Linked DNA regions of Homo sapiens: regions 1 and 3 are each linked to region 2. Evidence: promoter capture Hi-C in 16 types of primary human blood cells and fetal thymus (Javierre and others, 2016). All regions are on one chromosome and are shown on one strand. The core of a region is centred on a gene start or on the middle of the fragment in contact, and the rest is flanking DNA. Distances in the headings are between cores, read along the strand shown. Region 1 overlaps LMLN (leishmanolysin like peptidase). Region 2 holds the start of RPL35A (ribosomal protein L35a). Region 3 has its middle 21 kb from the start of LMLN-AS1.

Region 1 (3,765 bases), core at 749-3,248, 81 kb before region 2:
TAGAAGAAAAAGCAAAAAATGAACAGTACCAGACTATTTTATGATTAAGAGTCAATAAATGGTAGAAACAAGAACAAATATTAGAAACTTTCATGGAAGACAGCATTTGCATCCTAAGGATGTACACAGGATTTGGACTACTGCCGGGCAGATGTTACAGGTTGGGAAGCAGAATGCACATGGCTTAGAGATGAGAATTATATGAGAGTGTTGATAGGACAAGAGGAAAACTCCCTTGCTGAAGTTGAAGTATTCTCATTGTGGAATTCTGGGAATTAAGTGTGGGCAGGAGGGTAGATGTACAGGTAGCAGCAGACATAACAGACTCAGGAAAGCTGGATCAAAATCCAGCAACAGGAAGAGCCAGGAAGAAACTGATCTGCAGAACACAAGAGGGCTCAGGACTGCCACAGCCACACCTGGTACCAAGAAGTAAGAGCTACAATCAAAAGGATTAGACAAACGTCTGTTTCAGAGACAGACGCCAGCATTCCTCTCCCTCACTGCGACCAGCTGGACCAGTTCGTTCCGAACCCAGCTGATATAGTTTGGGTATTTGTCCAAATCTTCTGTTGAAATATGATTCCCAGTGTTGGATGTGGGGCCTAGTGAGAGGTGTCTGGGTCATGGGGATGGATCCCTCATGAATAGCTTGGTGCCCTCCCCACAGGAATAAGTTCCCCAGAGATCTGCTTGTTCAAGAGGTCGGGAGCTCCCTCCTCTCTCGTTCCCGCTCTATGTGATAAGCCTGCCCCCACTCTGCCTTCCGCCATGACTGTAAGCTTCCTGAGCCGTCACCAGAAGCCGATGACAGCACTTATGCTTCCTGTAGTCTGCAGAACTGTAAGCCAAAATTAACCTCTTTTCTTTATAAATTACCCAGCCTCAGATACTCCTTTACAGCAACGCAAAATGGACTAATACACCAGCATACTGGAGATTTATTTTTTGGAAAGGGTAAAACAGAGTTTTTCTGTTCTGGGGAAAACTAAGTACAGCAGAGAGCTGGGATGCCATCATGAAAATAAGGACTCGAAGTTTACAGGTTAAAGCATTCAAAATCGACTTCCTTCCTAGAACTCTGACAGCATATAAACTTAGGCGGGTCACTGGCAGTTTCTCTGACCAATCTGACCCGTCAAAAGGACGGACATCAAAGGTTTTGTAAGAAAGGAGCCCCATAGGGAGACCACAGTCAACAAGCCCTATGTGTGTGCTCAGAGCTTCCAAACTGGCTTCCAGGCACTTTTCTTTTCTTTTTTTTTTTTTTTTGAGTCAGAGTCTCACTCTGTCGCCCAGGCTGTGGTACAATAGTGTCATCTCAGCTCACTGCAACCTCCACCTCCTGGGTTCAAGTGATTCTCATGCCTCAGCCTCCTGTGTAGCTGGAATTACAGGCGCCCACCACCACACCGGGCTAATTTTTGTATTTTTAGTAGATGAGGGGTTTCATCATGTTGGCCAGGCTGCTTTCAAACTCTTGACCTCAAGTGATCCGCCTGTCTCGGGCTCCCAAAGTGCTGTGATTACAGGTGTGAGCCACTGTGCCAGGCTCCAGTCACTTCTTGAATATGAACAGGCTGTTAATGATCACCAAAAATAGAATCAACCCATTAAATTTTGGAATACTGGGGCTTGTGGCAGATGAGGATGTGGTATGCGAAGTTAAAATTAAGAATTTACAGCTTCCAGAGAAGAAAGAAAAAAGATTCTGGCAATTGAAACTCAGAATGACACTGACAGTCAGCACACAAAGGAAAAATGCTTTCAGAATTCTGATGGAAAATAATTTTCTTTCTTTTTTTCCTGCACCCAATCATCCATTAGGAAAATAATTTTCAAAAATAAAGCTATACCCACCCAAGCTATTGAAGGACGGCAGAACACGCCACCCCAAAATGTGCTGTTTTGGCACAAAGGTTTCCAGCTAAAGGGACTTCAACACAGCAGACCCAGCAAGACTGTTCTGACATCCCCCTTCCTCCTGAAAGCAGAAGACACAACTCCCACATGAATAATACCCTTCCTTTTCCAGGAGAAAACAAACATTTTTATCACCAATATGGGGAGTCAAAGCCAAAGAATTTGGTACAAACAGACCTTCTTAAAATAATTCTTATCTTCCTTTAGCCTCCGCATACATTTTACTTTTCTGTAACTGTCTCCCTTTGTTCAATGTAGTATAAAAGTATATAGGTTTCACACTTCTTTGAGTTTTCATTTACTCATGTGGGCTCCTGTGTCATGTAAAACTTAGATTAAATAAATGTGTATGTTTTCCTCCTGTTCATCGGGCTTATGCCTATTTCATTCTCAGGCCTAGCTGAGGACCCTGAGGGCAGAGGTGAGGTCCCGCCTTCCCACGCTGTCAGCAGGCGTCACGGTGGAAACTAGCTGAGGACCCTGAGGGCAGAGGTGAGGTCCCGCCTTCCCACGCTGTCAGCAGGCGTCACATCACGGTGGAAACTAGCTGAAGACCCTGAGGGCAGAGATGAAGTCCCGCCTTCCCACGCTGTCAGCAGGCGTCACAGTGGAACAGTGATGCTTTCAGACATGCAAGTCTCAACATTGTTCTCCGTCACATACTCCTCAAATCTCCACTAGAAGATATGTTCCATTAAAATAAAAAAAATCCAAAAAAGAATATGACACAAAATCCATGAAGGAGGGGATCCAATATGAGAGAGACAGAGGGACCAGAGGGACCTCCAGGATGATCCTGACTCGAGATCCCAAGATGCCAGCTGTGCTGCCAACATAAGGATTATATAGTCGAGATTAGCACAGGCCAGAAATGTCCAGAAGAGATTTCCTCAAGATGAAATGGATAGAATACCTCAGGTATCTGGTTCTACTGAAAGGAGATGAGCCCAACTGGGAGAAGAGCTTAGAATTGAATTAGTGCTAAATACAAAGAAAACTAATTGCAAAAAAACAAGGTCTTAAATCCAGAGAAAACGAAATACTGGGGAGAACGGGGAAGTAATGATTGCATGCTACCAGGCGCCACGTCTGCATAGTCCTGGTAATGTAAACAGTGAATACGTATTTATCCATAATCACCACTGGGAGGATGGGAAACAAGAAGTGTACGATGGGGAAAGAGGAAGTGAACACAGCAAGAGGACGAGGCGAACCAACTAAATTCTTATTTTCCAAAGTCAACAGCTAACATTTGAAATTCAAACCTTATGAAAGAATAATATAAGCTTTTTAAAAATAAAAAAGCAGGCCAGGTGCAGTGGCTCACGCCTGTAATCCCAGCACTTTGGGAGGCCCAGGCAGGCAGATCACTTGAGGTCAGGATTTTGAGACCAGCCTGGCCAACATGGTGAAACCCTGTCTCTACTAAAAATAAAAAAAAACAGCTAGGCATGGTGGCGGGCGCCTATAATCCCAGCTACTTGGGAGGCTGAGGCAGGAGAATCACTTGAACCTGGGAAGCGGAGGTTGCAGTGAGCCGAGGGATCATGCCACCTGCACTCCAGCCTGGGAGACAGAACAAGAATCTATCTCAAAAAAGTAATAATAATAAAAAAAAATAAGAAAGCAAATAGTAAGTCTCCCCTGACTCCTCCACCCCCAACAAAACAACAACTAAGAATTGAAAGTGAAGACTCTGGGAAGAAGTAATAAACATTAGGGAAGTAATAACAGAGGCTCTAGTTTTTTGTGTGTTTTTCTGTTTGTTTGTTTGTTTTTACATGTAGTCTCACTCCATTGCCCGGGCTGGAGTGCAGTGGTGCGATCTTGGCTCACTGCAAC
Region 2 (3,785 bases), core at 202-2,701:
TGGCTCAAGCCTGTAATCTCAGCACTTTGGGAGGCCGAGGTGGGCGGATCACCTAAGGTCAGGAGTTTGGGACCAGCCTGGCCAACATGGCAATACCCTGTCTCTACTAATAATACAAAAACTAGCCGGGCGTGGTGGCCGGCGCCTGTAATCCCAGCTACTCGGGAGGCTGAGACAGGACACTTGCTTGAACCCGGGAGGCGGAGGTTTCGGTGAGGGAGACCAAGTCACTGCATTCCAGCCTCGGCAACAGAGCAAGACTCCGTTATATAAAAAAGAAAATGAGGCAGATCTCAAAAACCCAAAACCTACCAGTGTCATAAACTTACTTCTTTGCTTTATATACATAAGCGCATCTCTTGCCCAAATAGAATTCTGTTTCATCTCGGGCGTAAACACCTTCAATTTTAAGAAGAGCTGTGTGCTCCCTTTGGTTCCGGAGACCCCGCTTATAGCCAGCAAAAATGGCCTTGGACCACAGCCTAAGACACAAAAGATACACAACATGAAACATAAGCTTCAAAAAACCAATCTGACTTGTAATCACCCCCACCCAAAAGTTACTCAGAGCAAACATCTAAGTTTTTTCTTGCCAATTTTAAGCTCGCATTTACGTTCACGTCTAACACACAAAAATAAAGAACTATATTTAAAACGCGTACCTTCCAGACATAGTTCCTTTTAGAAGTCCCGTTCCCAGCAGGCCTTAAAACAAACAAAAAGATTAGTTTAAAACCAAGCCACACAAGTTTCCCACCTCGTCCCCTCTCGTTTAAGCCCCTAAAGCAAATTCCTTTTGGATGGGAGTTTCATGTAGGAGTTCGGGGACAACAATGCCAGAACATCCATATGAAACGCAGGGTCCGGCAAGACATTCAAACCTCAGAGAACAGCTGGTATCTAAGCAAACTTCAGAATGAAGACAAAACTAAGGGACAGGAGTCACAAAAATGACTCTCAGAAAAGCCTGAGAAAATGCATGCCGTTATCAGTAGGCAACACTCAGGAAAAGAAATGAAGCCTTAAAGAGAAACACACACGTAAGACTTTTATGCAATGGCTGGGGGAGAAAAGCTGAGGAAAGAGACTGGTCAGACAAGCCAAGGAAGGTATGGACTGGGAGGAAACGGATGAAGGAAGCACTGCCTCATGGACAACTGCACACGAACAAAAACATCGTTTCACTCCGTTCAGGCCCAGGAATTTAACTGGGATAACCCGGGCAGCCGTTCTCCGGGTGTCAGGGGACCAAACACCATCAGCCCAACATCTCCTCCATCCTGTTCTCCCTCTTCTTGAAACCCGTAGAAATCAATGGCTGGCAGAGACTCCGATACGCACCGGCGACTCGCCAAGGCACAGGAACAAACCTACTCCGGTTATTTGCCCCCAAATTTCAGCAGCAGACCCTTCACTCACCTCCACAGGAGCCAAGATGGCGGTAAGAGAAGGACGAGGCCCCGCCGCGTGGCCTTGTGGGATTAAACATCTTTCGACTCCGCCCTCAATTTAGGCATCTTCTCCAAACGCCAGAAAAACAATCCTCGGAAATCGGCTTCGCACTGAAATAAGCCACATTCAATAGCACTCTTACAATTATTTTCCTAAGTCCTTTCATCTTGGTAGGCTGCAAAATGTACTACTTGGGAACAAGGGAAGGCAAAATGGTAGCCAGCTAAATCCGCCAAAGCTGTGCGTTGCCATAGAAACAACTTAGTTTACTTCCTGCGTCCCCGGACGCCGTAGGTGGAAAGGCGAACCCTGAGTGGAGGATGTTCCCGCTGCCTAAAGAATGATTGACTGTAAGATTGATTTGCCAACAGTGGGGTGCTTTTCTCTCGATACACACAGCAATAGACAGAACGGAAATTCTGGGATCCTAATCTAGCATGGAAGAGAAAGGCCGGGAGCACGAAGGCAGCAGGACCTCTTCCTTCTCTTTTTTCTTTTTCTATACTTCTTTTCTCCCCTCTACTTATTTATCTCTTTCAAGAAATGAGACTGGGCACAGTGGCTCACGCCTGTAAACCCAGCTCTTTGGGAAGCCGAGGCGGGAGGATCGCTTGAGGCCAGGAGTTCGAGACCAGCCTGGGCAACATAGTGAGACCACCTCCCCCAACCTCTACAAAAGAAAAAAAAAATGAATGAAATGACTTAAGTTCTTACCTCCATTCTTCTTTTTGGATCCGAGGTATGAGGAGGACTGCCTGCAGGAGGCTTTATCGCCCTTTTAGGAGAACTCGTTTAGCTGCCTCGTGTCCGCACCTAGTAGGTCCTCCGTAGATACTTGTAGAGGTGGATTAGTGGACGCCAGAGATTCACATTTCCGAATTATTGCATATTTATTTGGGTTATCCTATGGATTCATTCATTTATTTAACACATAGTTTAATGAATGACTACCCTGTACCAAGGTTTGTGTAAGATGACACGGCAGTAAACAAATCTATGCCCTCGTGGAGCTTATATCCTACGAGGCGGAGCAACACAATGAGCAAGTAAAAATAGATGACACGTTAGAAGATGATAATTTCTGTGAAGAAAATTAAGCAGAGAGGCCACTGTAAAAGAGGCTTTCCCCACTTTGAGATGGGAAGTATGTAAAAGAGGCTTCCCCTGCTTTGAGATGGGAACTATTTAAGGGTCCTGAACAGAAGGGTGACTCTATCTGACTTCTATATTGACAAAGTCACTGTGTTGAAAGTGAAGGGAGGCAAGGGTATCAGCAGGAAGATAATTATAGGTTCCTGTAGTGACTATGATGAGAGGTGATGGTGTGTAAACAGAGGATATTGAGTACTGGAATTCTGAATATATTTAAATTCTGGCAAGATTTGCTGGTGGATGAGGAATGAGAGAGAGTAAAGTATGACTCCGAAGTTGTATGAAATAGATGTATATAAGTCACTTTTAAAATCAGATCCTCTCTTAAATACAACAGGATAGAACTTGTACCTTGTAGCCTACTACCCCACCCAGTGTTCCCTGTCCCAGAAAGAAATGTGCTAGAAATTTCACTATTAGATATTGATTTGTCAAAGTTCTATATGGAAGTCCTCCTGGGAGGAATAACACATTAAGTGTGAGTTTCATTCGTTTGCTCGTGTATTATTCGTTCCACAAATACTTATTGAGCACTGAGACTTAGCACCTGATACAACTGTGAGCATCGTTGTCATGTTGCTGCTTTCATGGAACAGTTGTCTAGTGGGGGGAAACTGACACTAACGTAACAAATTGTGAACACAGCTCTGCGGGAAAGTAGTGGCATGAGTGCCCAGAAGCCTGATCTGGCCTGACGAGTCAGCGAAAGGATCACTTGGACAAGTGTCAGTTAAGGCATTTTTCAAACTGCAGGTGATGACCATTAGTAGAGCATGATAAGAATACTTTTTAAAACAAAGTATGGGCCGGGCGCAGTGGCTCACGCCTGTCATCCCAGCACTTTGGGAGGCTGAGGTGGGTGGATCACTTGAGGTCAGGAGTTTGAGACCAGCCTGGCCAACATAGTGAAACCCTGTCTCTACTAAAAATACAAAAATCAGCCAGGGGTGTTGGTGTGTGCCTGTCATCCCAGCTACTTGGGAGGCTGAGGTACAAGAATCGCTTCAACCTGGTAGGGGGAGGTTTCAGTGAGCTGAGATCCTGCCACTGCACTCCAGCCTTGGTGACAGAGTGAGACCGTCTCAAAAAAAAAAAAAAAAAAAAAAAAGGTAAAGCAGGAGTGAAACTACAAGGGATGATGGAGTCTCCCGGGACCTAGGAAAGAAATAGTTACCTAAGCC
Region 3 (3,869 bases), core at 714-3,213, 110 kb before region 2:
GCCCATTTCTGGCAGATTTAATTCATAATGAATTAAGTTTAGTCCAAACTAACAGTGAGAGTTAAGCTTGCTGGTTCATGTTTTTCTCCTATGTTAAGCCAAGGCAAACTATTTTTTACTTCTTAGTTATAATCCAGTAACTTAGGGATAGCAAAACATAGATTAAGTTTTACAGTTACATTTTAATTATTTTCTATTTTTTTATTCATACTTAATTCAGAATAAAGTTAATTTTAAAACATGCACCCTAACAGAAAAGACATCTGAGAAACAAAACAAGCAAATTAATTTTCCACTTTTGCACCTGCAAAAAAATGTCTCAAGAACCAGAACTGAGTAAGAATTGTGATAAAGAGTGTTTATCTGTATATTCAGGGCTTCCTTTAAAATTAATTACAAGAAAGTTCAACTGAAAATTGGTGAAAGTTTTGAAAAATCCAAAATTACTGTTTGTCCTGAGGAAGAGCTCTTACATAGTTACTCTAAAGAGGGACAAAATTAAAGGAAGTGCCCTCTAACCCAATGAATCATGTCCCTGACTGCAAGGAAGCAGATGCATCTTGGAGTGTCGAACTCTGTAGTATCCCAGGCATTGCCTGAACAGGAGGAGAACATCACAAACCTGTCTTTTCATTGTATTTATACTCTGGGTCCCTCAAACACACCTGCCAGTCATCTTCTAAGCTTTATTCAAATGAAAATAAATCAGACTGTAAAACTTGTAACTATCCAGACATGTAGCCTGTTTCTCAGAGATGAAGAGAATTGTTGTAATGATACAGAAATAGAAAAATTAGGGAACCCAGTAGTTATGGTTGAAATGAAAGAGGACCAAGAGTTTGATATGCAAATGACAAAAAAATATAAACCAAAATACCGTTAATTGGAAATTAGACATTAGACATTGGCCTCAGTCTAGAGATCCAAAAAGTCTGTTTGATTTGTGGTTTGTTTACTCTAAAGAAATGAAGCATGTGATACAGATAGAAAGCCACAGTATTTCTGCTGTTACAGACACTTACAAAAACAAAAATCCAGTAAGCACTTGTTCCACAAGCCATATGGAACTTAGAAGCTCTTCTAAAGCTTAGAAGATGACTGGCAAGTATGTTTCAGGGAGCCACATAAGACAGTTCCACTGCTAATAGCTATAAAAGCATGAAACCTGCATGAGAAAATGTGAGTTATTCTCCACCCCATAGTGACAGAACATCAAAAGCATATCTAGAAGAAGACTTACAGCAAGATATGCAAAGGCTTAAGAATGAGGTGGGCATGTTACAAGTAGAGTTCCTGGCTTTGAAGAAAGAAAGCTTAACTATAAAAAGAAAGAGGTTCACTTGCTGCTTCTCTTTTTATAAATTATCTGATTCATTCTGGTTTTCTACTCAAGAAAATCTCATGTGTCTAGTTACAGTGTGGTTATCTAAATGCATAATTATGTGTCTAAGTAGATCAGTGCTGCTATCTAAATGACAGTTCTGGAAAACACTCTCATAATCTTTGTTCATTAGTCAACCTGAGTCTCACTATCAGTCTTCCAAGTGGCACATGGGCTGGGAAAATAATTTAGCCATATGCCATGTGACCTTCTGAATCAGCTAAACATAAAGAAAATTGCTAAAGAAATAAGCTCTAGATTCTTCTTACTGTATTCATTTAAAGATGACTTACATTTATTTAAATGATAAAATGGTAACACGATGGGAGGGAAACAATGACTGAGAAGAGACATGAAAATGTATCTAGCCTGGAGACTTGTAACAAATATTATCAGCCAAAGGCGTCTGTTTAATGTGCTTTCATGCATGCAAGTTTATTTGTCTGACTCAAGCTGTTTAAACTTATAATTCCATAATGGCCATTTTAAATATTTTTGGAAACAAATACATATACTTTTGCATATTTAAAAAAAATCACCACTCTCCAATGTTTCTGTTGAATCACACTTTTACATTATGTTGTTTAATAAAATATGGTAAGTTTTGACATGTATGATTTTATCATGTAAGTAGCATAACTTCTCAGCCAAATATTTATCATTTGACTCTATAGTGGAAAGCTGAGTTCTGTACATTGTGTTCTAAAGATAGACAAAAATCTAGAGATTTTCTTAAAAGCAGATGAGGCCTCCTGCCATCCTCTGAGGCATTAAATTGCTTTGCCAAAGTCACGCTTTTAATTTATTTGACTAATTTGATATATTTATCTGGTAATTTATGTAATGCAGCAATATGTAATTGTATCTTCCCTTTTGGTGCCATGAAGTGCTAGGTAATGCCACCTTAGGAGCTTTGGGTGAATTATTTAATATTTATTGGTTTTACTTCTATTATCAAGTAGATAATGGGGCTAGAGTAGACAACTATTCTGTATATCTTCCAGCTATAAACTTTTGTGGTGATTGAATGTAAACTTGGGGAACATCTCATTTTCTAGGATTCTGCACTAGCAACTCAGCAGTGTCACTCTGCTCCTTGAGTTGTGGTAAACTTTGGTTCCTCTATTTCAGTGAGCACCTTCACTTTTTTGATATCCCAGGATCCAAGTGAAAAAATAAGGATAAAAGACAGTGGGGAAAATAACAGCTTAGTGCAGAACAGGGAAAGCTTCTTTTCTGTTTCTGAAGCCCCACAAGGTCACCTCCTCTCAATCTGGCTATTTCATGGAGAATCCAGGTGACAAAGACAGAAGACACATTTTATGTCTGTGTCTTTTTGTTTCTCTGTTTTTGTGTTGATATATTTACACCACAGAAGTAACTGTGATCTGGTGGAGAACTAGAAGTAGAGTCAGAAGCCCTGGGAACATCCTGCAGCTTGCTTATATTTTTAACCTCTCTTTTTAAGAATTGTGATAAGAAATTCATCAATGTATGTACGTAGAAGTGCTTAGTACAATGTCTAGATTTATGATTTAGTAAATGAAATTCTTATAACTGACTAAAAATGTTGAGTCAAATCACAATAGAATATTATCAGGGAAACAGAACTTCTAAAACTTTGAGAAATTTTATCGGTCCAAATACACGTGGAGGTAAAGCTCTTACTACAGGGTGGTATCTGGGTTAGATATCAGAGTATAAATGCAATTTCCTTTTTCCAATATTTTAATTTAGTCAAATTTGTTAATATTTTACTTTATGCTTTGAGTTTGTTGTAATTCAGAGAAAGGCTTTTCCAATTCTGATATTCTTAACAGTTCTCTAGTGTGTATGTGTGTGTTTTTAGTTTTATGGATTCATTGACTTCAAATAAAGTTTTGAACTTTTTGAAATTTATGCTCTTTAAGGTTCAAGGTTTTGCTTCAACTTTTTCTCCAGTTGGATATCCACTTACAGCAACTTTTAATTGCATGAATGTACAGGTTGTTCTTTCACTTCAGAGATAAACATGATATGTTATTTTATTGAGTGCTAGCTGAAAATTTCTTTTGTTTTATTTAAGATTTTCAAAGTTATAGAAAAAAGAAGGATGTGATATATACAAATTGCATATTGAAGGGAGATATTGCCACACTCAAACAGGAATAATACACAATAAAAAATGACAGTGTCAAAAAGGAAAAGGAATATATTCAGGAAATTAAGAGTATTAGAGAAATAAATGCTAACTTTGAAAAAAGTGCAAGACTCAATGAGGAAATGACAACAAAAACGATGTCCCAGTATTGTCAACAGCTTAATGGCCTCAAAGCTGAGAATACAAGGCTGAATTCAAAATTGGAGAAGGAAGAACACCACACAGATGGACTGGAAGCTGAAGTTGAATTCTTCCATTCTAGGCTGGCTGCTGCTATAAATGAGCACAATGAAAGTTTAGAAACGAAAGACCTAGAACTTGTTTTACAGAGAGCACATAATTTTTCCG

What was found. Contacts are between HindIII fragments. The CHiCAGO score rates a contact against its expected background, and 5 or more counts as called.
Region 1: a contact is called between a fragment that was not itself captured here and the fragment with the promoter of RPL35A in region 2, in 1 of 17 cell types (megakaryocytes). The highest score is 6.0, in megakaryocytes.
Region 3: a fragment that was not itself captured here is called in contact with the fragment with the promoter of RPL35A in region 2 in 1 of 17 cell types (naive B cells); the score reaches 7.0 in naive B cells.

The regions. Positions count from the first base shown.
Region 1 is chr3:198,029,609-198,033,373 of GRCh38, reverse strand. The region is part of intron 15 of LMLN (leishmanolysin like peptidase); the gene reads right to left. Among named protein-coding and RNA genes, the nearest start is that of LMLN-AS1, 8.0 kb to the left of the region's middle. The HindIII fragment of the contact is 2,427 bases long and covers 785-3,211 here.
Region 2 is chr3:197,947,856-197,951,640 of GRCh38, reverse strand. It overlaps RPL35A (ribosomal protein L35a), which reads right to left and starts at 1,451. Exons shown (of 5, transcript NM_000996.4): 1 at 1,420-1,451; 2 at 663-705; 3 at 330-482. The coding sequence starts at 673. All of the region lies in intron 2 of DRC9 (dynein regulatory complex subunit 9), which reads left to right. RefSeq lists enhancers at 1-183, 967-1,749, 1,829-2,048. The HindIII fragment of the contact is 8,868 bases long and covers 520-3,785 here.
Region 3 is chr3:198,058,939-198,062,807 of GRCh38, reverse strand. It overlaps the pseudogene ANKRD18DP. Among named protein-coding and RNA genes, the nearest start is that of LMLN-AS1, 21 kb to the right of the region's middle. The HindIII fragment of the contact is 1,296 bases long and covers 1,316-2,611 here.